5 separate regions of the Homo sapiens genome follow, and all the other regions are linked to region 1. Evidence: promoter capture Hi-C in 16 types of primary human blood cells and fetal thymus (Javierre and others, 2016). All regions are on one chromosome and are shown on one strand. Each heading gives the region's core, a stretch centred on a gene start or on the middle of the fragment in contact. The rest is flanking DNA. Distances are from core to core; before and after follow the strand shown. Region 1 holds the start of PUS3 (pseudouridine synthase 3). Region 2 holds the start of HEPN1 (hepatocellular carcinoma, down-regulated 1). Region 3 overlaps SLC37A2 (solute carrier family 37 member 2). Region 4 overlaps TMEM218 (transmembrane protein 218). Region 5 overlaps KIRREL3 (kirre like nephrin family adhesion molecule 3).

Region 1 (2,630 bases), core at 46-2,545:
GTGGGATTAAAGGTAATTTGTATTTATACCTCGACTTTTTATGAGGTCAAAAATTACATGGTGATTTTAACATGCAAAACACTCCAGTGATTATTTGGATCTCAAAGTCCAACATTACCAAAGTCTCCAAAGTTCAACTCCCGTGCTAACTAAAGAACTAGGCCAGGGAGTGAGTCTAGTTGGTCATAAGGCAGATTTGTGGCAAAAACAGGACTTGGTACACTACAGTGCTTTTTCCAGCACACCTTACCCTAATTCAGGGTGAAGTGCAGGAGTTCCCAAGCAGACGTTTAAAGTAACACCCTGGCCAGGGCTGCGAAGTAACCACAGAGAGGGAATTCGTGTGTCCCCTAAGCACCAATTACAAACTAAAACGGCCATCACCAGATGTTCCATACATTGGGCCAGGCGCCGTGGCTCACGCCTGTCATCCCAACATTTTGAGAGGCCAAGACGGGGTGGTGGCGGGGGGGAGGGGGGGTCGCTCGAAGTCAGGAGTTCGAGACCAACCTGGGCAACACAGCGAGACCGTGTGTTAATTAAAAAATTAAAAACTAGGCTGCCAAGATGGCGCACGCCTGCAGTCCCAGCTAGTTGGAGGCTGAGGTGGAAGGATCGCTTGAGCCCAGGAGGTAGAGGCTGCAGTGAGCAGTGATCACGCCACTTCACTCAGCCTGGGCGACAGTCTTAAAAAAAAAAAAAAAAAAGTCCTAATCTCAGGAACCAGTGGGTTAACACATAAATAGCATTCCTCTTGATAAACTTTATATTAATCCAAAGGGAAGAAGAGGGAGTACTGTCCAAAGGATTAGCAGACACGCACTATGATCACTAGAAAGCAATCGTGGTCTGTATGTAAGGCAATCCCCAAAATAATTTGAAAATTGCTGCCACAGCCTCCCACATACTCCTGGGTTCTCAACTTCTACTGTTTTATGAGCACCCAATTCTAAGTGGGGCAGCAGAGCACTTTTGTACTCCACAGTACAAGTACCACTGAAGCTCCCGTCACAACGGAATTAAAGACGACCCTACTGCGGCGAGTTTCCACCGAGAGCTCCAGAAAGTACCAGGCACAAAAGAAAAATACATGGTCTTAAGCGAGGTCTCATTTCCATACGGCAATGCTTTCCTGAAAAGACCAAAGTATGTGAAAGAGGGCAAAAAGAAGACAACAGACAACCGTTCAGCAGTGTGTCCATTTGTCCCTTCCCCTGTGGAACCCAGAAAGTAACCCACTCCAAAAATCCCACACTTACTTTCCGGCAGCCGGCCGCGCCGCGTTTCCGAGAAAGGAAGCTGTCACTGTGCGTCTTCTGCGCAGGCGCCCGAGCCCTCATGGGAGGTGTAGTCCAAGTTTGTGGGAAATGTAGTTCTGAGAACCGAGCTTGGTGCTAGAATCTACCTGAGGTTTTCTAGTCCAGCTACCGTTTCTCCGCCCACAGGGCAGAATCTGGGCCTGTGGCGGGACAGCAATAAAAGGAGGAATTGTAGTGCTACGCTAAAATAATAGAAAAAAGGTAATTTTTCAAATTCTGCTATCCTTATACGAAAACTAAAAGATTGAAGATCTTGGCTCGATTTTATACCTAGTTAAATGAGAAGAAAGTTACCATTGAGAGACAAAAACATTTACTATTAGAATTCAAATTAAAAGCTGAAATGAATATGATAATCTCAAAACAAACGACTAGGTGCCCTGAGAGTGACCGAACAGAGCGGGGAGCGTTGCTTCAGCACCACGGAGAGATCATGACTGCAGTTTCGTGTGGGTTTTTGTATTTTTGCCCCCAATTCCAGAAATGCTGATCAAAATCTCAAAATTACAATTAGAAAACTGGGGGGCGGGGGGGAGGTGGAATTTGGTTCTTTCGTCCAAATTGAGCGGTCATTAAATCATTAGTACCAGGGATCCAGGGATCTATACCGGATTATGCAAACGCATGTAGGACGTAGAGGTTATACCGAAAGGTAATGTTTTTAACAAGAGACCACATTTCAGAATAAAAGCTTTAAAAAGCCTATGTGGAACATCACAGGTATCTAGGGCAGGAACAGCAGTTAGAGCTTGAACAGTTCTGCTTCCTTTCCGCAACTGTGGCATTCGAGGTCATTCGTCATATCAAATTCATCAGATTTTGTCTCCACTTTGCTAACCAATTCGCTAACCTTTCTGACATCTTGTGATGTGGAGGCGGAAATTTCCAGGGAAACCGACACGGGGCGTAAAGCGCGGCGGGGAGTCCGGGGGGCTCCCGCCTGGAGGGCTGTGTGAGCGGCGGGCCGCGGGGCGGCGCGGGGGGCGCTCTCCACTCTGCGGAAGCTGCCCCCTCTGCCCTCCGGTCCGCGCCCTTTCGCCCCGCTCTCTGCCCTCCGCCCCGCTCTCTGCCCTCCGCCCCGCTCTCTGCCCCCCGCCCCGCTCTCTGCCCTCCGCCCCTTCCGCGCGCCACCCAGCCTTCCAGCGCCTGCGCGCCGCACCGCGGTGGTCGCGGGCGCGGACGCGGACGCCTGCCCCCTAAGGAAGCCCATTGGCCAGCGGATGGGGCCAGCACCGCCTCGCGCCGGTGGTGGAAGCACGTGCTGGGGGCGGGAGCAGCAATCGCAGCCATGGCGTCGTTACTGTGGGGAGG
Region 2 (2,630 bases), core at 73-2,572, 980 kb before region 1:
ACTGCTTAAAAATTTCCCCCATCTCTGGCAGGGAAGTGGCTCATGCCTGTAATCCCAGCACTTTGGGAGGCCAAGGTGGGCGGATCATGAGGTCAGGAGTTTGAGATCAGCCTGGCCAACATAGTGAAACCCTGTCTCTACCAAAAATACAAAAATTAGCTGGACATGGTGGCACGTGCTTGTAGTCCCAGCTACTCGGGAGGCTGAGGCAGGAGAATCACTTGAACCCAGGAGGCAGAGGTTGTAGTGAGCCTAGACTGCGCCATTGCACTCCAGCCTGGGTGACAAGAATGAGACTCTGTCTGAAAAAAAAAAAAAAATTCCCCCATCTCTTGAAGCCAGCAATGCAAAACAAATATCATTTAAGCAAGACCTAGTTGTTTTGAAACAGGAAGACCTCTCAAACATCTAGTCTCAAGTATTTAGCAGAGAAGTTCCACATATCACTTTTTACCTGTTGCAATCTGGCTTTAACCCCTACTACATGTCTGAAACTACTTATGCCAAGTCACTCAATGTTTTCATTGTTGCCAAATTTAACATGCACTTTTAACTTCATTTCATATGTGAGCCCCCTGCCCTTGTAGTCCCGAATGCTCCCTTTTTCTTGAAACTCTCTTGTTCTTTTGATTGTGTGATATAGTTATCTCCTATATATTCTCCTATCTTGCTGGCTGTGCCTTTTAAGCCTTCTTGGTGAAGTCCTTTTAAATTTTCTACACATACTGATGCCTCAGAAATCTATCTGCAGCTTTCTTCACCTTCTACTTTGTATACTTTCCTGAAATAATTTCATCAACTGCTAGGCTCAGTACCCTGAATTCCCCCCCATCGTGTCTTGCACTTCCAAGCTTTTATACATGCTTCTCCCTCTGCTTGGAGTGTGTCCTCTCATACTTTTAAAAACCAGATTAACTAACAAGTCTTTCTAAGAAAGACTCAACTCAGGTCTGTTCTCCTCCAAGATGCCTTTGCTGACATCTAATCTACATGCTCCCAGAGCACCTTGTATCTACTTCTGCCATTGCATTTTACACACTATATTGTAATCTGTTTACTGATCTGTCTTCCTGACATAGTTATGCTGTATCAGCAGTGTCTAGCACAGGGCCTAGTCCATGGTAGGTAAACAAATGTTTGTCGAATAAATAAAAGAACACCTGAATAAGTAAATGAATGAACGGGTAAGTGATTTTGGAACGGACAATTTGGGGTTTGGAAAGAGGGTAAAGGAGGTGAAAGGAGAAGAAGAGAAATGACTGGTATATTTAAGCAGCTTGTTTTGTTACCCTTGTTTATGTGGAATAAAGTTGTCATTTCATTTCATCAAAAGTTTATTGAGCATCCAGTATGTGCTAGGCACTCTGCTGGATGCTAGTAATACAAAGATGAAGATGAAAACAACACAAAAACAAACCCCACTTCCTTACTTACCCCTCCCCACCCCCAATTTAAGGCAGATTTGGCTTAAGCCTGGCAAGCTGGCCCCTCAGGGATTCAGCACCAGGGTATGGCATGTTCTCATCTCACCCTAACCTTCACCTGTGCATCTCAAGGCTGACCAGCAGGTACTCCTTATCCAAGTCCTGCTGCCTCTTCCACCTTCTTGAGAAACTTTTCCCCTACATGCATTATCTCATTATGGATGAGGCACCTGGGAAGTTTAGGGGAGCTGCGAAGGCACACCTGCTCAAATGAGCCTGGGGAAGTGCCGAGGGACAGGGAGCTGAGACAGGCATGCTGTGGGGTTCAGGGCAGAGGGGGCAAACTAGAAATGTCAGTGCCTTTGGGGCTGAGACAAAACTTGACCTGGTGTGGAGGTGATGGGTAACTGGGGCCTTGGAATTGCTCCATGGGTTGATGGCGAATCAGAGCTGGAGTTTAGGAGACTAGGGATGCAAGGACCCTTGGAGGCATTAAGGAGGAGGGAATGGAATACACAGAGGGCCTCCTTCTCTTTCAGCTTTTTAATTGCCCTCTCTCCTCACACAGTAGATTACTGCCACTCCTATGAACTGTTCAATAGGCGGTGGCATGGGCATGTCCTGGCTACACAGCGGCCCAGCCTCTTTATTTTGATGTTAGTGTGATTAGGGAGTCTGCCCTTTTTCTGTGCCCTGGGACCTGAGCATGTGGGAGCAGGGCAGATGGGTGGCAGGAGGCCAGGGGTTGGATCATGTTCCCCCCAAATGCTGGGAAGCAATAAGCCTCCTCCTCCCCCCACCATTTCTCTGGAGATTAGGACTTATTCTCACAGCTGGAGGAAGCTCAACAACTTTCCTGAGGACAATGATTGTTTGAAAGGCTTGTTTTGTAAGGAAGCCAGGAGGAATATATGAGTTTGATGAGCTAAAACAGTTCCTCATTTGGTCTAGTTTTCGGGCCAGGGGAGTAAGTGAAATTCACTTCTCTATAAGAATAAGCCCATCCATCTCTTTTATTCATGAACAGAGACAGAAAGAGTGCTTGGCATGGCATGCCTCCGAGGGAGGCTGTGGGAGGAGGCCAAGCTGGCAGGCTCGGGTTCTTTGCCCTTGCTAGCGCCCAGGTCAGAGGGAAAAGGAATGTACTCGTACCCTTCCCTCACCACCTTGTAGGTCCCCAGGTACCAGGTGCCCAGGGAAGAAGGC
Region 3 (2,630 bases), core at 54-2,553, 830 kb before region 1:
AAGAACAAATCTTTGTGGTTTTCCAGGAGCCCTTCCTCTTTTTAAATTAAATATTCACAAACTTATCAAGATTTTGCCAACTTTGGCAAAATTTTAACACATTTAATTGCTTATTTTTAGACTTATTGTTTGATGTACTATAATCCAAGACAAATCAAATTTCCTTTCTACAAACCTAAAATGTATCCATTCAGATTTGACCTTCCCTGTTCCCTTTCTTATTCTGGAACAACCAGTCATTTTTCTTATGTGTAATATTTTTCCTTTTAATAAACAAAAACAGGTTTCAATACCATGTATACAAAGTCATACCTCTCTGCCACGATTGTTCCTAGTAGAGTCTCATTCATGTATATTAGTTATATCTTTTAACCAAAGTAACTAACATTTCAGAGAGAATGGGGAGTGGGGAGGGTGGATCATTATAAACCATCTAGAACACATTGGCATTCTAGAAGGGCTCAGTAATACGCATAACATGACTTTCTCCAGCCTCCAACACTCTTCACTTTCACACTTCTCAAGGTGTGAATTCAGCTACGGTATTCCCCAACATCTCTGGGATTTATGACAGACCTTGGTTGAAATCCTTTCACCACTGTGAGCCTTGACTTTGCTGAGCCCCAGTTTCCTCATCAATAAAAGTCAGATGGGTTCTTGAGGATAAATGCGATAATATAAGGAAACATTCTTGACGTCTTGTGGCTGCTGGAGGGTACTCAACAGGTATCCTTTTACTTCCTTCCAGATAAGTTTAGATTTGGATTCCTATCAAACACTAAATGTCACGTAGTTCTTCTGTAAGTACATTATTATGCTGAGCTCTGAGGCCTGCAAAGACAATCAAGACAGGGTTCTACCTTCTTGGAACTAAGAATCAAGCTGGAGAGGGGCTGTGTACACACAGTCAGCAATTTTAGAAGGCCCTGCTCTACTTATTGAGTGCCAAAGGATGGCATTTCCTATGTGCCATGTCATTCAGAGGACCAGCGAGGGGAATGCAGAAGTCGGTTGGGGAGATTTTGAAGAAAACTGACTTGCTGAGCACTTAACACATAAAAGGTTAGAGATTATATGTATACATTGCCTGGTATACAGGAAGCATGGAATACATGGCGGCTTTTACTATCATTATTAATGATGGTGATGTTATTATTACAGATACATATTAACCCAATTCACCTTTCTTGTGCTAAACAAAATACAGGCCAGGGTGCAGACAAATAAAAATAAAGACTTATAGTCTGAAAATGAGAAATCAAATCTCTGTCACATTTAACTGCTTTCACATGTCCCCAAGGAGGGCATTTAAGAAGTGAAGAAGACAGAATAGGAAGCTGAAAGTGGACTGGCCCTGGGCCTTGGACTCCTCCTCTGTAAAATGAGGATAATAATAATACCTGTATCACACGAGTGTTTTGAGGTTTAAATGAGGTACTACGTGTAAGGTACTTAGGTCAGTGCCAGGCTGATATGAAACACTGAGTAAACACTAATGATTGACTATATTCTATTTGTTTTTCCTACTACTTTGTGCCAGGCATTGTTTATTTGTAATTTTTGTGGAACTGCAAGGTGAATGTTAGCTTCCCTGTGGAACATATGAGTGTAATGAGGCACAGAGCAGTTATGTAAGCCTGTCCAGCACCACACAGCTGATAAATGACTGAGCTGGAGTTGGAATCAAGATTAGTCTGACTCGTAAGCCCATGGTCTTTCCGCTGCCTTCCTAATGATAGTGTTGGGTGGGGAAAAGATTACATGGCCATTTGGCCTTGGACAAATTACTTAACATCTCCCAGGCTCAATTTCCTTATCTATGAAATGGAAAAAATGATGTACCTATATCACGGGGTTTTGGTGAAATTAAATGAGAAGCTGCTTAAAGCACTTAGCCCAGTGTCTAGCGTAGTTGGTATTGGCTAGGTGCTTATAAATTTCTGTGGAGGGAGAGAATCATCTCCATTAGGAGAAGAAGGAAGTCTTTGACTTGGATCTGGAGGTGTTCTGAGCAGAGGTCACAGAGCCAGCAAAGGCATGCAAGTGGAGACATGGCCTGTCCCCTGTCTCTGAAGTAGTAACATGTAGCTCCAGCTGGTAGGAACAAAAGGTGCCCCTGGACAGGAGGCTGGGAGTCATGTGGCGCCAGGTGTGTGGAGACAGCTGCAGACATCCAGGCAAGAGTCAGAGATGGCGGAGTTTCTGTCCAGGAAGATGTTGCTCTCCTCCTCCTGTTAGGCCTTCCTCGTCAGGATGACAATGAATGGCTTGTCCATGGCGTTTCAGAGCCACAGAGCACCTGGAGGTTCCCCAGCCTGGAGCCTGGCTGGTTCCTGCCTTTTGTACCAGTGTCTGTGTGGGTGCGTCTGGGGGCAGCTGGCAGCATGGGAGATGACTGTGGCTGGTGCTTATGGGGCTGGGCCCATTTCCTGGGGCCCTCTGAGGGGGATGGCCCAGAACGTGCAGAAGAAGAGCCTGTGGGAGGAAATACCAGGGTGACCACAGCTGGATGAGCAGGAATGGGCAGGAGGGTGAATTGGGCAGGCAGGAAGAGCAGGAGCTGTGAGCTCCTGTGGTGCCATTTTTCCCACACCTCGATCTTCCCCTGTGAGCTGCAAAAGGCCACAGCT
Region 4 (2,630 bases), core at 92-2,591, 790 kb before region 1:
AGAATCACCATGAATGCAAAAGCTTCAAATGCAGACTATGCAGGTGTGTTGTTCTGGCAACTCAAATACCACGAGCTGTGCTGCCTTCAGTTATGTGATTTGCTAGAGTGATGAACAACTCTTGTTAAAGTTCCAAACCACAAATAAGTATAATTTTCCTCTGATTTACATTAGAGTTGCATTCCTGGAAATTTTACTATATTAAACTGTGCCAAAAAATACATTATGTTTATACAAAAACCGGAGTTAGGCTCTACACTCAGATAATTATAAATGAGTATCCTGTGGGATACTCAAAATTTGCACAGGATGCAGGACAATTCTTCGTTGTGAGGACTGTCCCATACATTACAGAACATCCAGTATCCGCAGTCCTGATCTGTAAACCCCAGTAGTGCCTCCAATCAAAGAATAACAAAATACATCTTCACAAATTCCAAAACACCCTAAAACGGGCAGCAACATCTTCTTGGGGAACCACTGTTCTAGACACAGTCTTGCATAAAGAGACATGTACAAGGTGTTTATTGCAGCTTTGTTTACAATAGCAAAACATCAGGAAAAAACCTAAATGTCCATCAATCAGGGAACAGATACAATATTATATATTCATAATGAATACTTAAAATGAATGAAATTGATCTATATGTATTGATGTGAATATATCTCAAAAACAATGTTGAGTGACAAAAACAAGTTGCAAAATGGAACCCACAGTATGATACTACTTGTATTTTTAAAATTAAATACAATCTAAACAGTAATATATATTGTTTCTGACGAACGTATATACAGCAAAAGTATAAAAACATGGGCATAAACAATACATGACAATTTCAAAAGACTATTTGCCTCTGCAGAGGGAGGAAGGAAAGGGAATGGGGTTAGGAGTGGAAATAAAAGGGATCTGAACTAAATCTGTGATGTTTTATTTCTTTAAAATAAAAAACTTGAGCTGGTGTGCCAAAATGTTAATATTTATTAATCTGATTGGTGGAACATAGATATTATACTACCCAATGTACTATTTTCTGTTTTTAAATTTTTCGTGATAATTTTTAATTTTTAAAAAGGTAATGGGCAGCAGGATGCATATGAATTGGGTGACCAGTTAGGAAACTATTGCAATTCTCCAGATAAGAGATGATGAGGGTCTGACCTCCAGTCTTAGCTGTGTCAAGGGAGAAGGTGTTAGAAATGACACAAGTTTCTAGCTTAGTTGACTGAGCTGATGGTACTGCTCTTAAGAAAACAACTATTTAAATTTAATTTGTGCTATTCTGGATATTACACAAATAACCCAGAAGACTTGGACCAACTCTAACAGTTAGAATAGAGGGCAAATGGTAGTTGAAGCTGGCTGGCGCCATTAGAAATGTTGCCCTTCAATCCCCCTTAGTAGCTTAAGAGTTCGTGAGACATTGGATTTATATATGGTATGGCTTTAAAGTAATAAGATAAATATTCCCAAGCTCTTTTAAGAATGGAGCTCATAATTTTATAAGCAAACTATACATTTTCTTACTAAGCATAGAAAAGAAGGGCTGGGTATAGTATAGAGTGCTGCTATAGAGGAAGAGAGAACATCTAGTCATTTTTATCTTATTTAAATGTGAGAATAATATCTGTGATAATTTCCCATATTAGAATAGCTAAATTATTGTTATTGAGTACAATACAATAAAATATAAAAACGGGTTCATGCCATCATTAAACCTTCTTTGAGAAGTGATGGCTTGGCCAACCCGATTTCAAGGGTAAGTCCATTTACTTAATATCTGTGGCATTTAAAGCAGGTAGACTGGAGTGAAAAAAAATAATTTAAATTTGAACAGTTCAGCAGCTGACAACAAAAGCAACTACAGGGCTAATGTTTTCCTTCTGTGCTCAATGCTGTGAGGTTTTTCTCTGAGAGAGTTTGTTCAAAACCTTTTAGATGTGTGTGTTCATTTAATGGTTGTTTCTACATACCCTTTCATCCAGCTGTCAGAGAAAATAGGAATAAATGGACTGATCCCTGCACAGGTAACCTAATGGATTAAAAATACGGTACTCATCACCAGGTTGATCATCATGAGCGAGAATACTAACTGCCATTATAAGATGACTTATAAGATGACTTACTATCTAAGACAAATGTGGATTCCTCAGAGGGTAATGTGGCCTAAGTGCTGCTGCTGGAGGGAGATATCTCACCCATCCCCCGATTTTCACACTGACTCAAGCCCTTGAAAGCAACAGAAAACAGTGGGTTACAAGGAGTGAAGTGCTCCTCTGGAAGAGTCCTTTTCACTTTGCTTTATAGCTGTTTTCCAAACCTTCAAAAATAACGGGGGGGGGGGGTTACTTTCACACTTTTATGTTTCTACTTTAAACACTTCACTATCTTTTGAATTTTAAAATATTAGAATAACGCCTCTACCTTTGTAATTAGATAAAATGCAAGCCTGGGGAAAAAATCAGTTGCCAAGCTCCCAAAATGCCACCGATGTAGCATCTGCTCTTAACACGTTGATAGAAAAAGGAGGATCAGTAAACCTAGGTCTCTTCCTTGCATCCCTCTCCTGGACGGTGTTGTGGGTTGGAAGCGCTGCAGAGCCTCGGTCTATCCGCTCTCTGGATCTCACAGC
Region 5 (2,630 bases), core at 69-2,568, 580 kb after region 1:
CCCGCTGAAGGAGAGTAGGTGTTGCCTGCAAGCACCAGCACTTACGGCCCTCGCTGCCCCTGGGGCCTCGGTCTGTTCCAACCACTCCTTACACAGCAGACCCTGGCCCCACTGCGTCTCTGCTGCTCAGCAAACCCAGCTCCTTCCGGGGCCGGGCTTGCCCTGCTCCTCTCTGTCTGTAACGCTCTTTCCTGTTCCTCACTCTGCTGGCTCTTCCCGTCAATGAAGGTGCAGCTTCAAGAGCCCTTCAGTGACTCTCCACTACCCACCCCTGCACTTTCTGGATCACTGGGTTCATTTATTATCTGTCACCGTTCTAGAAAGGACAACAAAGACCTTATCTATCTTGGTCATTGTGATATTGCTGTATCACACAGTAGGCGCTAAAGAAATATTTGTTGAATATATTATTTGTTAAATAAAAGAATCTCAGAAGGGGAGTGGGGATGGGGCCGGGGGGACGGTTATCATGGGCTTTGGCTTCTGAGGTCAGCGTTTTAAATCTTGTGTGTGTGTATGTGTGTGTGTATATATGTGTGTACATGTGTGTATATGTGTGTATGTGTATATATGTGTGTACACGTGTGTATGTGTATATGTATATGCATGTATATGTGTGTATGTGTGTATGCGTGTGTATGTGTGTATGTATGTGTATATGTATATATGTATGTGTATGTATGTGCATGTAGATGTACATGTGTGTATACATGTGTATGGGTGTGTGTATACATGTGTATGTAAGTGTGTGTGTGTATATGTGTGTGTATATGTGTGTTTGTGTGTGTGCATGCATGTGTGTGTGCATTGGGTACAGTTGGGAACGGGCTGCGTGAGTAGTGGGAGGGAGGAGGGCAAAGCAGGAGCCCTTCTGAGGCCAGCTGGGACAGCGCTGTAGGAACTCTGCGCTGCTGTGGCATCAGGGTTGGTGCTCCCTGTCTCTCCTCGAGAGAGGGAAGCCTGGCTGAGGGGGGCTTGGTGCTGGGAGCTGATTCTCAGCCTGTTTCTCCGTGGCTGCTGTCCTCTGATTTGTCTGGAACATAGGATGGGAGAGGGCGGCAGGCCGAGCATGGTGACAGATCAGAGACACTTGGCTGAGTGGGGAGAAGGACGTTTGTGGGTTCTTTGATTTTGTTCTGCCGCAGACCCAGGGGCTCTGGGAGAGTCAGTGCTAGGAGTTCCAGCACTGACTACAGTGGAGGGAGGATGCCGAAGCCTCGGGGTGCATCTCCCACACCTTCAGCATCTTCTCCATCCCCAGGTTCCCCGCTGCAGCCCTGCAGTCAGCCTGCCATGTGTCCTGCCCTCCTGCCTCCCTCCCTCCCAACCTTTCTCTCACCAGCCTCCTCCATGTCACAAGCTGAGGCTATGATAGCTGAGTGAAGCCATACACGGCCTGCCATCTTAGAGCTGATGGGGAGGCCCTTGCCACTCCAGGCCAGTGCCCAAGACGGACATGTGTGCAGCCTTGGCACCTCCTGGGAGCTTGTTAGAAAAGCAGACTCTTGTGCTCCACCTCAGACCTCCTAAGTCAAAATCTGCCTTTGAAAAGACCCCAGACAATTCACATACATTTTCAAGCTGGAGGAGCGCTGCTCTAAGGGTTCCGAGGTAGAAATCATGACAAACTGACAAGTGCTATGAAGGGAAGGCTCACTGGACAAAGAGCACGTGTGGGGACCCTTGATCCCTTCACAGGCTGCCTGCTCCCTTCGCTCCCCCGGGGCCGGCCAGAGAAAGGGGCAGACTGCTCCCTGCTTACTAGCTTTGGAGTTACACGATCTTGTTTCAGAACAGCTTCCTTTGTGTATGCCGTTTCTTTAGCTTGGAATGCTGGCGTTCTCCTGGACCACTGGTCTTCTCCTGGGTCACTCTTACACACCCTTTGAGACTTAGTTCAGAGGGCACCCTCTCTGAGCGGCCTTTCTAGAATCTGCCAGTTGGGCCAAGTGTATAGGGCTTCTGTCTATGATCCCACAGCATCCTGGGCATCCCCTGACTCACTAGCTACCACATCCTATGGAAATCTCTCTGTGTGTGTCTCTTCCCTGAACCATGATCTCCATCCGGATCCCCATCTCCCAGCAGAGTGCCTGCCTGCTGCACAGGGCACAGGGTGGCATATGCATTTGCTGAGCTGAACTTGACTTGAGTCGATCACTTTATGAGCCATATGATTGTAGACAAGTTATATAATCCGACAACCTTAATCCTCTTATCTGGGAAGTGAGATAATAAAAATACCTATCTTGCAGGGTTATCATGAGGATTACCTTACAATATGAAAGATACACAGAGAACATTGTAAAAGGCTATACAAATGTAGGTTATTATGTCTAATTTTTAGGAATAATATTTAGGTTTGTGGCTGTGTGAAAAGTGCTGAGCCAAGGTCCTCTCATTTTATTCTCAATATCTTTTGAGGCAGGGACTATTAGGGTCTTCATTTTATAGGTTAAGAAGCTGAGACTCAGAGAGGGCAAATTACTTGGCAAAGACCACACAGCCATAAGTGGTGAAGTTGGAATTTAGACTCGAGATTTTGACCCTACAACATGTTCTGTTGGAGTTAGAGCAGCTCCCAGACTATCCCTGCAGCTGCAGCAGCCCTTCCACTAACCCCTGCCTTT

Evidence for each region. The method cuts DNA at HindIII sites, captures the fragments that hold promoters and counts their contacts. A CHiCAGO score of 5 or more calls a contact.
Region 2: the fragment with the promoter of HEPN1 here is called in contact with the fragment with the promoter of PUS3 in region 1 in 2 of 17 cell types (naive CD8 T cells and activated CD4 T cells); the score reaches 5.7 in naive CD8 T cells.
Region 3: a contact is called between a fragment that was not itself captured here and the fragment with the promoter of PUS3 in region 1, in 1 of 17 cell types (total B cells). The highest score is 5.1, in total B cells.
Region 4: a contact is called between a fragment that was not itself captured here and the fragment with the promoter of PUS3 in region 1, in 6 of 17 cell types (naive CD8 T cells, total B cells, total CD8 T cells and 3 more). The highest score is 7.6, in naive CD8 T cells.
Region 5: a fragment that was not itself captured here is called in contact with the fragment with the promoter of PUS3 in region 1 in 3 of 17 cell types (fetal thymus, non-activated CD4 T cells and activated CD4 T cells); the score reaches 6.8 in fetal thymus.

What each region holds. Positions count from the first base shown.
Region 1 is chr11:125,901,911-125,904,540 of GRCh38, forward strand. PUS3 (pseudouridine synthase 3) reads right to left here and starts at 1,296. Exons shown (of 4, transcript NM_031307.4): 1 at 1,260-1,296. It overlaps DDX25 (DEAD-box helicase 25), which reads left to right and starts at 2,598. Exons shown (of 12, transcript NM_013264.5): 1 at 2,598-2,630. The coding sequence starts at 2,608. The HindIII fragment of the contact is 3,679 bases long and covers 1-2,008 here.
Region 2 is chr11:124,917,928-124,920,557 of GRCh38, forward strand. HEPN1 (hepatocellular carcinoma, down-regulated 1) reads left to right here and starts at 1,323. Exons shown (of 1, transcript NM_001037558.4): 1 at 1,323-2,630. The coding sequence starts at 1,824. The coding sequence ends at 2,090. HEPACAM (hepatic and glial cell adhesion molecule) reads right to left here. Exons shown (of 7, transcript NM_152722.5): 7 at 1,278-2,630. The region is part of intron 1 of LOC107984406 (a long non-coding RNA gene); the gene reads left to right. The HindIII fragment of the contact is 3,231 bases long and covers 850-2,630 here.
Region 3 is chr11:125,067,608-125,070,237 of GRCh38, forward strand. All of the region lies in intron 1 of SLC37A2 (solute carrier family 37 member 2), which reads left to right. Among named protein-coding and RNA genes, the nearest start is that of SLC37A2, 5.6 kb to the left of the region's middle. The HindIII fragment of the contact is 4,165 bases long and covers 1-2,630 here.
Region 4 is chr11:125,108,520-125,111,149 of GRCh38, forward strand. All of the region lies in intron 1 of TMEM218 (transmembrane protein 218), which reads right to left. Among named protein-coding and RNA genes, the nearest start is that of TMEM218, 1.8 kb to the right of the region's middle. The HindIII fragment of the contact is 2,643 bases long and covers 21-2,630 here.
Region 5 is chr11:126,478,001-126,480,630 of GRCh38, forward strand. All of the region lies in intron 4 of KIRREL3 (kirre like nephrin family adhesion molecule 3), which reads right to left. Among named protein-coding and RNA genes, the nearest start is that of KIRREL3-AS1, 65 kb to the right of the region's middle. RefSeq lists an enhancer at 898-1,399. The HindIII fragment of the contact is 3,515 bases long and covers 1-2,630 here.